Linked DNA regions of Homo sapiens: region 2 is linked to region 1. The links are contacts of gene promoters, found by promoter capture Hi-C in human tissues and cell types (Jung and others, 2019). All regions are on one chromosome and are shown on one strand. Each heading gives the region's core, a stretch centred on a gene start or on the middle of the fragment in contact. The rest is flanking DNA. Distances are from core to core; before and after follow the strand shown.

Region 1 (7,315 bases), core at 1,976-4,475:
CTGGAACACCTGCTCTTTGAGGGGGCTGGCCTCCTGCTAGATGGAACCTGTGGGAGAGAAAGGCTCAGTCCTGGTCTTAGTACTTGGTGTGGGGCACTCCTTGGAGGCTGGCTCAGGAGTCAGATTGCCCAAGGGAGATGAGACAGGAAGTCCTGCTGAGCCATTAATACCTTAAAACAGAGCAGTGCATCTCAAATGTTCCCAGCAAAGTCCCCCAACTCCAGAGGCATTCTCAGTGACTTCTTGAGTTGCAGACACCGGGAGCTCTGCTTAATGCAGCCACCACTGCACAAGCATAATATTTCTTTGAATTCTCCATTTCATCTTGCATATTCATGTGACTTTTTTGCATTTGACTCCATGATATGGTGGGGCTAGTTTTAGAATATGAACGATGAGGAGTGGTATCGTCTAGTTGCTAAGAACATGAGGTATTTAAACCTTTCCACTTCAGTTTCCTCATTTGCAAAATGGGAATAAAAATAATATCTACCCCATAGGCTGTTGTGATGATGGGATGACTCGGTATAAGCAAAGTATCTGGAACAGTGCCTGCCACATCCTAAGTGTTTTGAATGTTAATGTGGCTATTCCTTTACTGATACTCTGATATGAGAAGCACGAAAAATCAATTCTCATTATTTGCAGATTCCTTATTGTGAATTCAGCTACTGGGTAAAATTTATTTGTCACCTCCGTTAAATTAAGTTTAGCCTAAAGTTGCCTTCTTACATATTTTAAGTTCGGCCTAAAGGTCTCTCTGTACATAGTAAACTGTAACCTGATGATGTGTAAACAGACTGTAACCTACTCTTGAAGCAGTCACAGAGTTTTGGCCAATCACAGGCGGTCAACTGTTTAAACCATGTTTAAATAAGGCAAATGCCGAGCTGTAACCAATCCAGCTGTTTCTGTACCTCATTTCCGTTTTCTGTTCATCATATTCCGTTTTCTATCCATAAATATTATCTGACTATGTGGAAGCCCCAGAGTTGCTCTGAATCTATTTTGTTTTGGGGCTGAGGGGGGCTGCCCTATTTTCAAATTGTTCTTTGCTCAATTAACCTCTGTTAAATTTGTCTAAAGTTTTTATTTTAACACCTCATAATCAATAGCTGCAGCACTTTCAAAGTCATTGAACCAGTGCTGAACGTTTTGAGTCTCTTGAGACACATGTTGGAAGCTAAGGTCCAACCAGTCAACCCTCTGTCTTCTTGTTTCAGCTTTCACACTGTAAATGAGTGGCCCAAAAGTTCTCTTCATTGCCATGTTTTCACATTTTTTTGGTCTTTTTTTTGATGATTTTGCTGCTTAAAGCACCCCCCAGGCACAGTGCTGAAGTGAAGTCTAGCGTTCCTAAGTGGAAGAAGGCTGGGATGTGTGTTGCAGAGAAAATACGTAAGTTAGATAAGCTTCATTCAGGCATGAGTTACAGCACTGTAGGCTGTGAGCTCAGTGTTCAGGAATCAACAATAGATGTTAAGTAAGGCGTCTTTAAACAGAAACATGCATAAAATAAGGCAATGTGTTGATTGATTGACAAAAATATTGTGAGCTTGCAGGAACCCAACTCTATATTTCCCCTAGGAACAATGGCTCCATATTCACAAATTCGTTGTTCTGTGACTTTATAGACCACAACTACAGTAAATAAAAAGGATCGATTGTCCATAGATGAGTTAGTTCTAGTTTAGCCCAGCCCTCCCTACCCTTCACTGGCTACTCTTACCTCTCCTGTCTCCACACTGACCTGTCCTCTGCTCACTTGCCACAAGTCCAATCATTTTACATAGAGTGGAGAGACAGCCTTGAAGATCCTCTTCTTGGTCAGAGGAAGTCACCAGAGTAAGTAAGGGAAGAATGAGTGAGGAAAGCAGGCAGGGCCAATTGCTCTTGGCAAAGCTCTAGCAGTAACCGGAACGCAGCAACCACAGAGAAGGCAGGAGAACAACTTTAGGGGTGAACAGTCCAGGCTCTAGAGAGAGGCAGATAGGGGTTCCAGTCCTGGCTTCTCCACTCATGGTGGGCAAGTTATCCTCCCAGCCTCAGATTTATCCTAGGTGAAATGGGATAATGCTCGAACTACTGCTGCTGTGAAGATCAGATAGACACAAAGAGCTTGGTACTCGACAGACACCCAAGGAAATGGCGACTGTGGTAGGACTTAGGTGGGGGCATAATGCAGCCTTTAAGATCAATCTCCTGGCCCTTGGCTTATCCTGCTGGGACTAGGACAAGGACAGGGACAAACATTTCCTTTTACTTCTCCTCACCTCCAGAAGTACACAGGCAACTCACCCCAGTCTCTTGTCCGCGACACTCTTCCCCCCAACCCCAAATCCCAGGCCTGGACACGGCATGATTCTGGCACCTGTGGAGCTCTCAGTTCCCCAAGCCCGGCTCAGACAAGGAGGCGCCAGGTACCCAGTTAAGAGGCGCTCCTGCAAGATCCTCGTGGTCCCTGGCTGCCAAAGGTCCCAGGCCTCTGGGCAGTGAGCGCTCCACAGTCCCTTGTGTGGCGTCTATGCTGCGCGGAGGAGGCGCAGGCCAGGAGAGGGCCATTGGTCTCCACTATGGTCCTGCCTGGCCAGGAGTGCCTATGGCTCTTAGGCACGAGCCAGCGGTTCCGGGCAAACCTCTGTGTGGCTGCTGGGCCTGACTTTGCAGAGCTGGCGCCCGGGTCTGGGCGGGGTGGGTGGAGGCTATGGGAGGTGGGGCCGGGGGTGGGCTCGGGGGGAGCGACGGCATCCCTGCTCCGGCTCCGGCTGAGGCGGGGCGGCCAGGCTGGCTTGCGGCGCAGCGGCCGCCTTTCCCCAGTGCGCCTGCCGGCGGCGGCGGTGGCGGCGTCGGCAATCCCGGCTCTTGGCACAACGCCTGGCGGCCGGCCCAGGGCGAGGAGTGGCTTCCAGGAAGCGGGCGGAGGAGCGTTCCAGCCGAGTCCCGCCGTCGCCGCGGCCCCGCGCGCTCCGAGCGGCCCGGGCCTGGCCCCACACGGCGTCTCTTCGCGCCCCCGGCGCCTCCAGCTCAAGCCGAGGGCGCGGTGCCGGCGCGCAGGCTGACGGGCGCCTGGGCGCGCCGTGCACTTGCCGGGCGGTGCAGGTGGCGGCGCGCGCCCTCCGCCTCTGGGCCGGGGCCAGCGCAGCGCTCTGCGCGCCCGGAGGGGGCGGGAGAGGCGGGGCAGCCCCCGTCCCAGCCCCATTTAACTTCGCGGCGGCGGCGGCGACTGCGGCGCCGCGGGCTGGAGGCCGGCGTCGGGGAAGGTCCTGGTGCCGGATTCCGCACGAGGTGTTGACGGGCGGCTTCTGCCAACTTCTCCCCAGCGCGCGCCGAGCCCGCGCGGCCCCGGGGCTGCACGTCCCAGATACTTCTGCGGCGCAAGGTGGGTGCACCGAGCTCGGCGCAGGGCGGCCCCTCAGGGGTCGGGGGAAGGCGCTCCCCAGAGGGAGTAAGACTTGGAGCAGTGGCCTCTCTAAGCAAGTTGGGGGTCTCCAAGCAGAGTCGGGGCGTGCCACGCGGGCCCCAGGGGGCCTCAGGACTGGGGTGCTCCTCACTGCTGGGCACCTCGGGTCGGGCGCGCTTCGTGCCGTCCCGGAAGGTTCAGGGAGAGTCTTTCGGCGGCAGTTCGCGGGCTGAGGGGCGTTCTTGATTATGGGGGAACTCCACAGGGTTGGAGTTTTTCAGGATTGGGAGTTACTAAGCAGAAACCTCGCGGGTCCGAAGGTCCGGCCGGTTGACCACTGGGTAGCGAGCGCCCAGAACGCCGGGGGTTGAGGCGACGCGCGATCGTGGAAAGTGGGCGTGGGGGTGACCGGGACGCGGCGGAGGCACTGGAGGAGCGACTTCGAGGCAGCGGGTAGTCGGAGGAGTGTGCACTCGGAAGGCTGGTGCGAGCAGGCGAGGGTGGCGCAGAGTCCCAGGGCCCCGCACTGGCCGCCTCCCTTCAGCCAGGAGTCGCCGCCTCAGGTCGGAAACAGCAGCACATTTGCGGATCACATTAGACCAGGCCCTTAATGCCTTCTCCAGATGGAGAGAAGCCACCGACCCGCCCCCGGACACCAGCTCCGCCAAGGCGCCCGCGAGGCGAAGCGGGAGTCGAGTGTGACCTCGGCTTTTCCAGTCTCGACTCATACTGATTTCCCTGTAAATTGACAGGAAAAGTAAGGGAAAAAGTCCCCGCTTCCCTCCTGGTTTCAGCTGACCTCTGCTGGCTGGCCCTCACCTACTTTTAGGAGATTGTGTTAGGCTGGCTCAGGGGCTGTGTCCTCCAAACCTCCCTGAACTTAGCTCTCAGGCGTCTCTCTGGGTGTGGGTCCCGGACCTCGAGGGCGCACGGTGTCATCTAGCGAGGAAAGCCTTGAACTATCAGAAGATCTGCGTTTCAGCCCTAAAATGTCACTATCTTGCTGTGTGACCTTAGGCAGGTCCTTTCCCTCTCTGGGCGGCTTTGTTGTCTTAGACTCATTTTTGCCGCGAGCAGCAGAAGCTAGCCTAAACCTTGGCTCTGTGCTGGCTTCCTGAGTCAAATGCCAATAGCGACACCCTGCTGCTGACAGATAGGCTTGGGCAGGGATATCTCAGCTTCTGAAGAGCTGGAGGTATGAGATGCCCACTGGAGACAGGTCCAGCCCTCGCCTGACTTTGTTGTGGACCTTCTAAAGGGAGCCCAGTTAGCCTGCACCCTGCAGTAGGCAGCGGCAACCTGGGCCAACACAAACCTTTCCAAAATAGTATATGGGCTTCAGGGTCCCTCCATCTAATGGGTCGCTTAAGTCACGGTTTACTGCCATGGGGGCCAGAGCTGGTTGGTAATGAACTCTTTCCTCGTTTGTAGGCTACAACTGAGACCCGGAGGAGACTAGACCCCATGGCTTCCTGGACGAGCCCCTGGTGGGTGCTGATAGGGATGGTCTTCATGCACTCTCCCCTCCCGCAGGTAAGGTCATATAGGGAGGGGAAGGGAAATGGTGGACATCCCTCTGTTTACTCAGAGGCATTATTGTATACCACCTAAGATGTGGCATGATTAGTGTTAATCCTACACCAGAGAACCAGACTTTCTTTCCTATCTCTAGCCAATGGTATTTCTGGTTGGCTTAGCTGTAAGGATTATCCAGATCCCTTGGGTCCTCTCTGAATCCTGAGTAGGGCTTTAATAGCACTGTGGATACCATACACCGGTGATGACCTGGGGCTGTGATGGACCCTGTCATTTCAGACTAGAATGGCTGTCTGCATGTGCCCAGCAGAGGCTGGGTTGCTGGAGACCAGGAAACAATGGGCAGAGCCAGGTTCTGGCCCTAGCTAAGCTGCTAAATAAATATTCTGAGTTTACATCTATCATCACATATCCCACTGTTTTATCCCACAGTCCTCTCTTTAGACTTCTGCTGTCTTTTCCAACCAACTTGAGAGGACCCGGCTCATGAATTGCATCTTTATTTGCCTAAAGGACAGACTCAAACAAAGGAATGAGGCTAGCATTGCCTAAGAGACAATAGAGAGTAACGGAGACAGTGGCAAAGTGCAGAACGCGTGCTCCATCTATTAAGAGCAGTCTCTACTCAATTCCATCTGATCGTTGCTAAGTGGAGACATAAGCCCAGGATTGCCAGATCTTATTTTTCAAGATAGCTGGATCATCTAGACTTCTTACAAAATTTCCCAGTTTTTAAAGTATTGAAAGGCAGATAAATGTGTTTGCAGCCTGGATTCAGCCAAGCAGTTTGCAGCCCCAGATCTAAAGGCAGGGCACATCTTAGTATTGTGTCCCAAGGGCTGCTGCTAGCTCCATACAGTGTCTTATGAATTAGAACAAGGCAATCCCTCCCTGCAGACATAGCTTCTCAAATACATGGCTTGGTGGCCTGTGTACCCTCAGGGTCTCGGAAGGGACTTGTCACTTAAGGGCTTAAATGTCTGTTAAATAAACATGCATCCATGAATGAAGATATATACCCTGGGATAAATTAATCAGACTCCTCTGCCTCTTGTTTCACTTTCTTGGACTTAGTGCCTCTAAAGCCTCTTTTGGCTCCAATGCCCTGTGAATTCTGTGATGCACAAAGAACTGGTCAGCAAGGTACATCTTCTCCCCACTATCCCATTTTATCGATACTATCCCATAATCATATTAATAGAGCTCTTTTGTTAGAACAAAAGTTAAGTCTTTTCAGGATGATGTTAGGGTTCTCTGGCCAGCGAGATGACTGTTGAGGTAAAAGCGTGGAGACTTACGTTTCTGTCTCATCAGCGGATCTGAAACAGGCTTTGAGAGCTTCAGAGATTTGTTCCTGGTCAAATGGGGCTGAGGCTTCAAGGCACAGTGTTCATTTTGCCTTCTTTCACCTTATAAAATTTAAATATGCTTTGAGGCAGTCTGTTGACCTTTGGCCAAGGGCAGTGTTTGCCCAGCTTGAATCACTCACTGACCTCTTTTGGATTTTTCCATATCTGTGTGCCTGTGGCAGTGCTGTTTCCATGTATCCAGGCAGTGTGCATAGAAGGTCATAAAAGGAGATTTCAGACCAGCAGTCTTCATCATTCACGCCACTCACTGTTCGGATCCCAGCTCTACCACTTCATTACTGTGTCACGCAAACGTCTCTGCATCGCATCTCAGTTTTCACATCTATACAGAGGAGATAATATTAGTATAGACCTCAGAATTGTTTGGAAGAGTTAATCCATTGTGAAGTGGAAAAAAGTGAAAAACCAAACCAAACAATGTCTGGCACATAGTAAGTGTACAATAAATGTCAGCATTCTGCTGTTGCTGCTGCTTGTCAGCATTAGAAGCTTGAAGCAAGCGCAGTGCCTGTATTTTCTGGTGTAGAGCCTGTAGGGGGCACTCAAGAGGTATCAGCTGTGGAGGGCCTGATCTTCAGGGAGTGTGGGTGGGCATGGCTAGGTCTGTCTCACCAGAGGCCCTGAGAAAAGGTTCTAATGAAGGGTGGTAGGTCAGCCCTGTGTCCCTGTCCGTGGGTTGGATGCTCTGTTTTTTCCGTAGGGTCAGCCTGGGTTTGACTCAAGGCCGCCCTTTCTGAAGTATCTTGTGATTTTGGTGTTTGGGTGGGGCTTAAGGTGTTCCCTGGCGTCTACCCTTGCTTCGTATGTGCTGCCACCAAGGTGGTTGTTAGAAAACTGCTAGATGTGTGAGGCTGAGCTGTGAGGAGCAAGGGATGTGCCAACTAATTAATAACAAATAGAGTTTCCTTTCTTTTCTTTTCTTTTGAGACATGGTTTCACACTGTTGCTCAGGCTAGAATGCAGTGGCATGATCTCAGCTCACTGCAACCTCTGCTTGCTGGGTTCAAGC
Region 2 (7,132 bases), core at 1,356-3,855, 400 kb after region 1:
AAAATCTTTCATGGTGCTTTTTCCTTGGAAAGGAAAACTGTTACTTCTTCTACGAGAAACTGGCCTGATGGGAACAACACGGTTGGCCTGATACGGAACATAGTCAAGATGGCTTGTGCTGTTTAACAGCATGCTACCTGTAGGAGGCACATACTCTGGTACTTTCTTGACCTCCGGTCGTGGGATTTCCCATGGTTGAAAACTTTCACGGAATTCAGTGCTTCCTTCAAACCGAGCATTCTGGGTCACTCTGGTGTGTACAGGTCTGCAGAGTTTTGCAGTTTCACCAAATAAGACCCCAAAAGTCATACCGGTGAGTTGTGAAATCCTCAAAGCGTTGGTCAGTTGGTTTGTAAACTTCTTTTGGCCTTTCAAACTTGAGTTCAAGCTGATGAGGTATATAATCAAGGCGATTACTTGTAATACCATTAAAAGGGGCTGTAGAACGTTTGACCACAGAGAAGGGTTTAAAGCTTTGCCTAGGCTTTATCTCCTGAGGAACAAAGTCATCCTGGAATGTAGTTGAATTTCCAAATTTCACAGTAGGGGGGTGGTAAGTTCGTTCTGGCTTATAAAGTTCACTTTTACGAAGGTCCCAAGCTTTATAATCGTCTTCAAAATTATATCAAAGCAAAAACAGTTTTAAATGCTGAAGAAAACAACCATCTTCTAAAAATCATAACTGACTTCTCTCATTGCCAAACATCTTTCCATTTCCTTTAGAAATCTAAACAATAGTATCAGAATACAGTTTCTCTGATTCCTTTCAGATTTGTTCTTTTTCTTCATTTCCACCTTCCTCTACCCATCTCCTCACTTTAATACATGTAACTTTCCACTTTCAGATTCATCTGATTACATAACAAAGGAAAAGCACATCTGAGCCTGATTGTGGATAGTTCTTGAAAGCCAAAAGGACTGTGTTGGAGGTGAGGACAGAGTTTAGGAGATTATGGTTGTATTCCTAGGAAGAGGTTGGGATTTTAATTACAACTCACAAAATGCTAAGGTACGTCTAAAAGCCAGGGCTTGAAATAAAATCAAGTGCCCTTCATGGGTGGGCAAAAGTAATACAGGTATTACTCCTTGCTTTGGAGAGACTCTTCAAAGGGGAGAAAAATTTAATTCTGGTATCCTCTAGGAAGCCTACAGAAAGAATTCCTTGAGCAAAGATACAGGGTAACTTGTGCTATCCCAGAAAGATCACTGGCTTCAACTTTCCCTCATGAAATGGACTTTAAGGCATTCCCAAAAGATAGAGGGCCATCTAGAGGCCAGAGGCCTTAACTGAATGTCTTCAGAGGTGTTTGAAATTGTAGAATTTCAAGTGACCATCAGAGCAGAGATCTGGGGTTTGGAAGTTAAATAACCTTAAGCTTACTTCCTGTAGTTTACCTAGACTGTGGAGCATTTTGGGTCACGCTAGTGTATACAGAATGATGACTTGTAACACCATTACAAGTTGGTAATGGTACACTTCACTAAAACTAAAATGTTTATATTTCAACTAAGGATTATTTGTGTTTTCTATTTCTCCATGAGGAAGATAGTAAGCTAGGAAATATCATAGAATAGACTTCACGCCAAAATATATATTTCTAAATACCAAAAGTTAATTTATAAAAGGTAGAAATTTATTACACAAGATAACGTACTAAAATCTGGACTAAAGTCTATGCAATATTTACAGGAAAGGCCAAACTTTGAAAACTTATTATGTGGATATCTTCTTTGAAGAGAAAAAATGCTTAGCCATTTTTGCCAAAATGGCCAAGTTTTGGACTAAATGATTAAGTTACTGATGTCTGGATGAGAGACTGCACCTGACTCAAGAATAGGCGACCTTTAGGCTAGCAGAGACCTTTAAGACAAACTGACAGAAAAGATGAGCTAGATCAAGCATTCTTATTCTTGTAAACCTAAAATTGAAAATAATGAGTGAGATAGAAATGGGAGAATTGAAAAGGATGCCAGGAAGTAGAGCTGAAGAACTATGGAAAGCTGAAGTTACATTCAAAACAGACCTTTAAAGAAACAGAAATGATAACTAGGCAGAGGTGGCCAGTTAGTAAAGCAGCAATCAGAGCAGATGAGTGAAGGGAAGTGAAGATGCTGTGAGAGAAATCATGTAGCTCATTGCGGAGATGAAGGGAAAAGCTCTTCCTTCAAGCTCCCTGGGCACCTGATAGCTTTCCATTTTCAGTTCACATGAAGCTTTACCAGAGCCTTTTTTTCTTGAGGTATCATGAGGGAATCTCTCTTCTTTGCAGACTAAAGTATAAAAGTATAACACTATTTTTCACTAACTAAAAGGAATCAGAGATGTTATCGAAGGTTTATAGTTCCACACAATCATATAGGGAGAATTCTTGCTACCACACAAGAGAAAAAAGATTTTCATTATAAGAGAGTAAACAGAAGAGAATATTTCTCCCTCACCAAACCAGCTTTGGTTTTCAAAATGGAAGCAAGAATTTGGACACTGAGAGATGGATGTGATAGCATACAATAGTATGAATGTAAGTTCTACATAATTGCAGAAAATTGATTTTCTCCCTATAAATATGCCTATGCTCATATGCCTGGAATATTTATTATCTGTTATGGAATATTTGATAACATTCTAGCAGCATCTTTAAAACATCATAATCTTTATCATCTGTTTTTAGTGTTTTATGATACTTATGGAAAAAACAAACAAGAAAACAAACAATGCTGTCCACGTCTAAAAATACAGTTTGGTTATGTGGCAGCTCCACTATTGCCCTTGTTAGATGTTTCCTCAGCTCACTTTTTATGTCTAGCCACTAAAATCTGGATAGAAAGTTTATTCTCTTCTGAACAGGTTTAAGTCCAAGAAGTGTCTGAATGCACTTGCCCACTATTTGTATACACAGCTCCAACCCCATTTTAATATAGTGAGCTGTTCTAGGTTCTTCTTTGAGGACAAAAGTCTTGAGTTGCTTATGCTAGCTCTTTTTCCTGGTACTTGGGACTGCTCCCTGTGGTGTCTTGTGGTACCAAGGAATTGGAAACTACTTTTAGAAAGTCAGGGGACATCATCCTTGGCCTCAGCTTTTTCAATCTACATATCACCAATCTACTCCCATGGTTTTAATACTACCTGTAAGGTGGTGACTCCCAAACTTGAATCTCTACTTCAGACCTCCCTTCAAACACCAACCCACATATTTATCCACCTACTAGACATCTTTATTTGGATGTCCCTCAGATAAATGAAAACTTAGCATGCCCCAATTAATTATCTCACTCAGACTCACGTTCCCCAGAAAATAACATACCTACAAAGTTTCTGTTGTGAATTTGGCAAGTCAGGCTAAGGTTCCGTTTAATTGACTTTTTCTCCCTCATTTCCTTCTCTCCTTTTCAAGTAGTTTTCAAATACTGTTGATATTACCTTCTAAATATTAATGTCTTCCTTCTTGAAGCAAACATGGAATGAATGGCAACCTGATAAAATTGTCAAAAATAAGAAAAAGAAAAAAGAAGAGGCCACAATGTAAAATAAACGTCTATAAGGTCTGTAGTGCTATTCTCTTTCATTCTTGATATTTGTAATTGGTGTCTTCTCTCTTTTGGTTTATCAACTTTATTATCTTTTAATAGAACCAATTTTTGGTTTCATTGTTTTTCTGTTTTCAAATTTATTGATTGCTGCTGTTATCCTCATTTATTTCCTTCTACTTTGCTTTGGATTTAATTTGCTCTTATTTTTCTAGTTTCATACAATGAAGGTTTAGACTGTTGATTTAAGACTTTCTTTTCTAATATGAACCTTAAATGCTATAAATTTTCCTCAAAGTATTGCTTTAGATGCATCTCTCAGATTTTGGTATACTATATTTTCATTAAATTCAAAATACTTTCTAATTTCTTTTACTTTTGCTTAAAACCATTCGTTATTTAGAAATTTGCTGTGTAATTTCCAAATATTGGGGGATTTTCCCACTTTTTTTCTATTATTGATGTTTAATTCAATTCTGTTATGATCAAAACCACACATTGCATGCTTTCAATTCTTTTATATTTGTTAAGGTTTGTTTTATGGCTCCGAATATAGTTTATCTGAATGAACATTTCATGTGCACTTGAAAAGAATGTGTATTCTGTTATTGTTGACAGAAGTGCTTTGCAAATGTCAATTTGGACAACTGTTGATAGTGTTTTTCAGGTCTTTATATCCTTATTCATTTCCTGTCTATATTCTATAGATTACTTAAAGAGAGTGTTGAAGTCTCCAACTACAAATGCATGTTTTTACATTTCTTATGTTAGTACTATAAGTTTATGTTTTGTGTATTTGAAGCTCAAGTGTTAAGGGCATACACATTTAGAATTTTGTGTTTGGGAAATGGAGGGTGAGTGTGTGGTGGTTTCTCTGTTGTCCTGGTTCAGCTTCAGTCTTAGGCAGTCCCTGTGCCCCCGGGCCTCAGAAGCAGGGCTCTCTCAGTGCACCTGCTCCTTCACTTGATGTAGTAGGTCTCTAATTGTTGGTCCCGAGACAGTTTCCTGTTCTTTCTTCATGTTCAAGGTTTGGTTTTATTTTGCTTCTTGTTGTTGTTTTTCCTTTATCTTTCCTCAAGGTACAATACATCTTCAGCTATTCATTGGGGTTGTCAGAGTGATGTCTCTCCCGCAGTGGATTAATGCTTTTGTTCTGTAGGTTAGAGTCATTCAAATGGAGCTTCCTGCTATTTTTTTCTTTCGCAACAACAACCATTCTTCTCTCCATGCCCGCACTACAAAGGAAACTTTCTGTGGCCTCCAGCCTTTCTCCCAATCTTTCTGATGATCACAGAGTGAACATCCATAGGGAAGAGTCTATGAGTGGTTTTGAACTCCCCCTTTAGTGTCTGAAGTTCTCAGAGCTTCTATACTCTCACAGTAGTTCACACTCAAGTCTTTAGCAACTAAAGATGTAAATGAATTATTTTATCCACTTTTGTAACAGCTAGTCTTCATTCCATGCCCTGCTTTGGGTGAAACAGTGCTTGCCTCCTGTCTCAACTGGGTGGAAGTTGTTTTTCCTTAATGTCAGGCTAATTGGTTAACCTGTGATCTCAGGTTTCTAAAGGATTCATACACATTTATGATTTTGTAGATTATCTGGCTTTTTCTTATTGTTATGTTGGGGACATAATCTTTCTGACTTCCTGCATCCTACACAGAATCTGAAAATTCTGGAATTCTTTATGGTGAGGTTTAAAATTACACCTTCAATTCTACAAATTCAATTTCCTTTACAGATATAGGGCTATTTTGAATTTTTATTTCTTCTTGGGTTACTTTTGGTAAATTGCATTTTTCAAAAAATTTATCCATTTTATGTAAGTTGTAAATTATTGGCATATTTTTAAAAATAATATCTTTTTAATGTGTGAAAAATCACTCTTTGAGTTTTAATCAAAATATTTTGTTCATTTACACTTAATGTAATGATCTAGCTGGGCTTAAGTTGACTGTATTGCTATTTGCTTTTGATTTTTCCCTTCTTTGTTCCCATACCCCTTATTTCCTGCCTTCTTTTGTATTACTAAATGGCATTTTTATTATTCTACTTTACTATTAGAATTTTATCTTTCTATGTTTTAAAAATAAAAATGAATTTTTGACTTGTCATGAGATTTTTCTGGCTCAAACTTAAATGGACATTTTTACCACGTCTACCATGGAAGAACCTGTAAGCAATTTAATTCTATTTAACTCCTCTTGCCTTTTGTGCCACTGTTCTAACATATTTTACTTTCATATTTGTGTAAAAACATAATATAGTAATTTTGACTTCCAGTTGTCAATATTCTTTTATATTTACCCACATATTTACCCTTTCTGTGTGCTTCATTCCTTCCTGCATTTCATGCTTCTATCTGGAGTAAGTTTCCTTTTAACTAAACAATTCCCTTTAATACATTTGTAGTAGGCATCTCAGCTTTTTCTTTTTTGTCTGAAAACATTTTTACTTTGCTTAAATTTTTAAAGGGCATTTTTGCTAGATATATAATTCTCAGATTTGCTGGCTTTAAAATTCTAGATCCTTCTGGCACCTTTAGCACTTTTAAAGTGTCATTTCACTGTCATTTAACTTCCAGAGCTTCTGTTGAAAAGTCATGTATCATTCTGTTTAAAAGTCAGATATAACTTTTTCTTTTTGTAGATAACGTATAGTTTTTCACTTGCTACTTTTAAGACTTTATCTTTACCTGGTTTTCCGAAGTTTGACAATAGTTGTCTAGGGTGGTTTCCTATGTGTTTATTTTGGAGTTTGCTGAGCTTCTTGAATCTGTGGGCTGATTCTTTCATCAATTTTGGAAAAGTCTTGACCATTATCTCTTCAAATATTTCCTGGTTCTTCATAGGCCTCATAACATTTTACTATATGCTAGATGTTGTGTATAAGAGAATCATAAAAACTAAAATCAGTGTTATTTTCAACAGAGACAATTTGTTCTTTCCTATGGTAAAATACAGGGCAGATCACCTCATTCTTACCAGAGTCTGAGCTAGATTAGGGCTCAATGGCACCTTTAGTTAGACATAGTCTTACTCTAGTTTCAAATGTCTCAAGAACAAGGCTTGAGGTGTGTTTGTAGTAAGGCCCTCATTCTAGTGGAACTCTCTTCTAAGCATTTACTCTCAAATAAGACTGTGGGATATTCCTGTGGGATTTTTCTGGCCCAGCCTCTCAGCACACCACACTCCCTTCCCTGCAAACACGCAGTGAATGTCTCACATTGAAAACCAGCCATGTATCTAGGGCTCTTCTAGATTTCAGTTAGTCCTATCAGCCCACATTCAAGTGTTCCACTGCTTTCTCTTTCCCCTACTAGAGTTTCTCTGCTTATGCCAAGCTCAATCCTCAGCATAGGCCTAGACTTGACAAGTGTTCCCAGAGAAGTAAATGGCTGGCCATATCAACTCACTGAGGAAGGGCTCCTATCTCTCTGAAGTTTTAGTTTTTTGCTTCTACAGCTGTCTGGTGCCCTTAAAAGAAGATTTTTAAAAATCTATACTTATGTCAAGCCCCTCAGCCTGGCAATCAAGGTTCTTCCCAAACTGATCTCAGTCTACCTTTATAGAATTACACCCCAATCTCTCATCCCTGAAACCTTCT

Evidence for each region. The method cuts DNA at HindIII sites, captures the fragments that hold promoters and counts their contacts. A contact is called where the count stands out against the background at its distance.
Region 2: a fragment that was not itself captured here is called in contact with the fragment with the promoter of ADAMTSL3 in region 1 in 1 of the 25 tissues and cell types used here (mesendoderm cells).

The regions. Positions count from the first base shown.
Region 1 is chr15:83,650,898-83,658,212 of GRCh38, forward strand. It overlaps ADAMTSL3 (ADAMTS like 3), which reads left to right and starts at 3,226. Exons shown (of 30, transcript NM_207517.3): 1 at 3,226-3,379; 2 at 4,832-4,933. The coding sequence starts at 4,865. RefSeq lists an enhancer at 1,695-1,864. The HindIII fragment of the contact is 6,298 bases long and covers 1-4,103 here.
Region 2 is chr15:84,053,444-84,060,575 of GRCh38, forward strand. It overlaps the pseudogene LOC642677. Among named protein-coding and RNA genes, the nearest start is that of GOLGA6L4, 180 kb to the right of the region's middle. The HindIII fragment of the contact is 6,643 bases long and covers 1-5,927 here.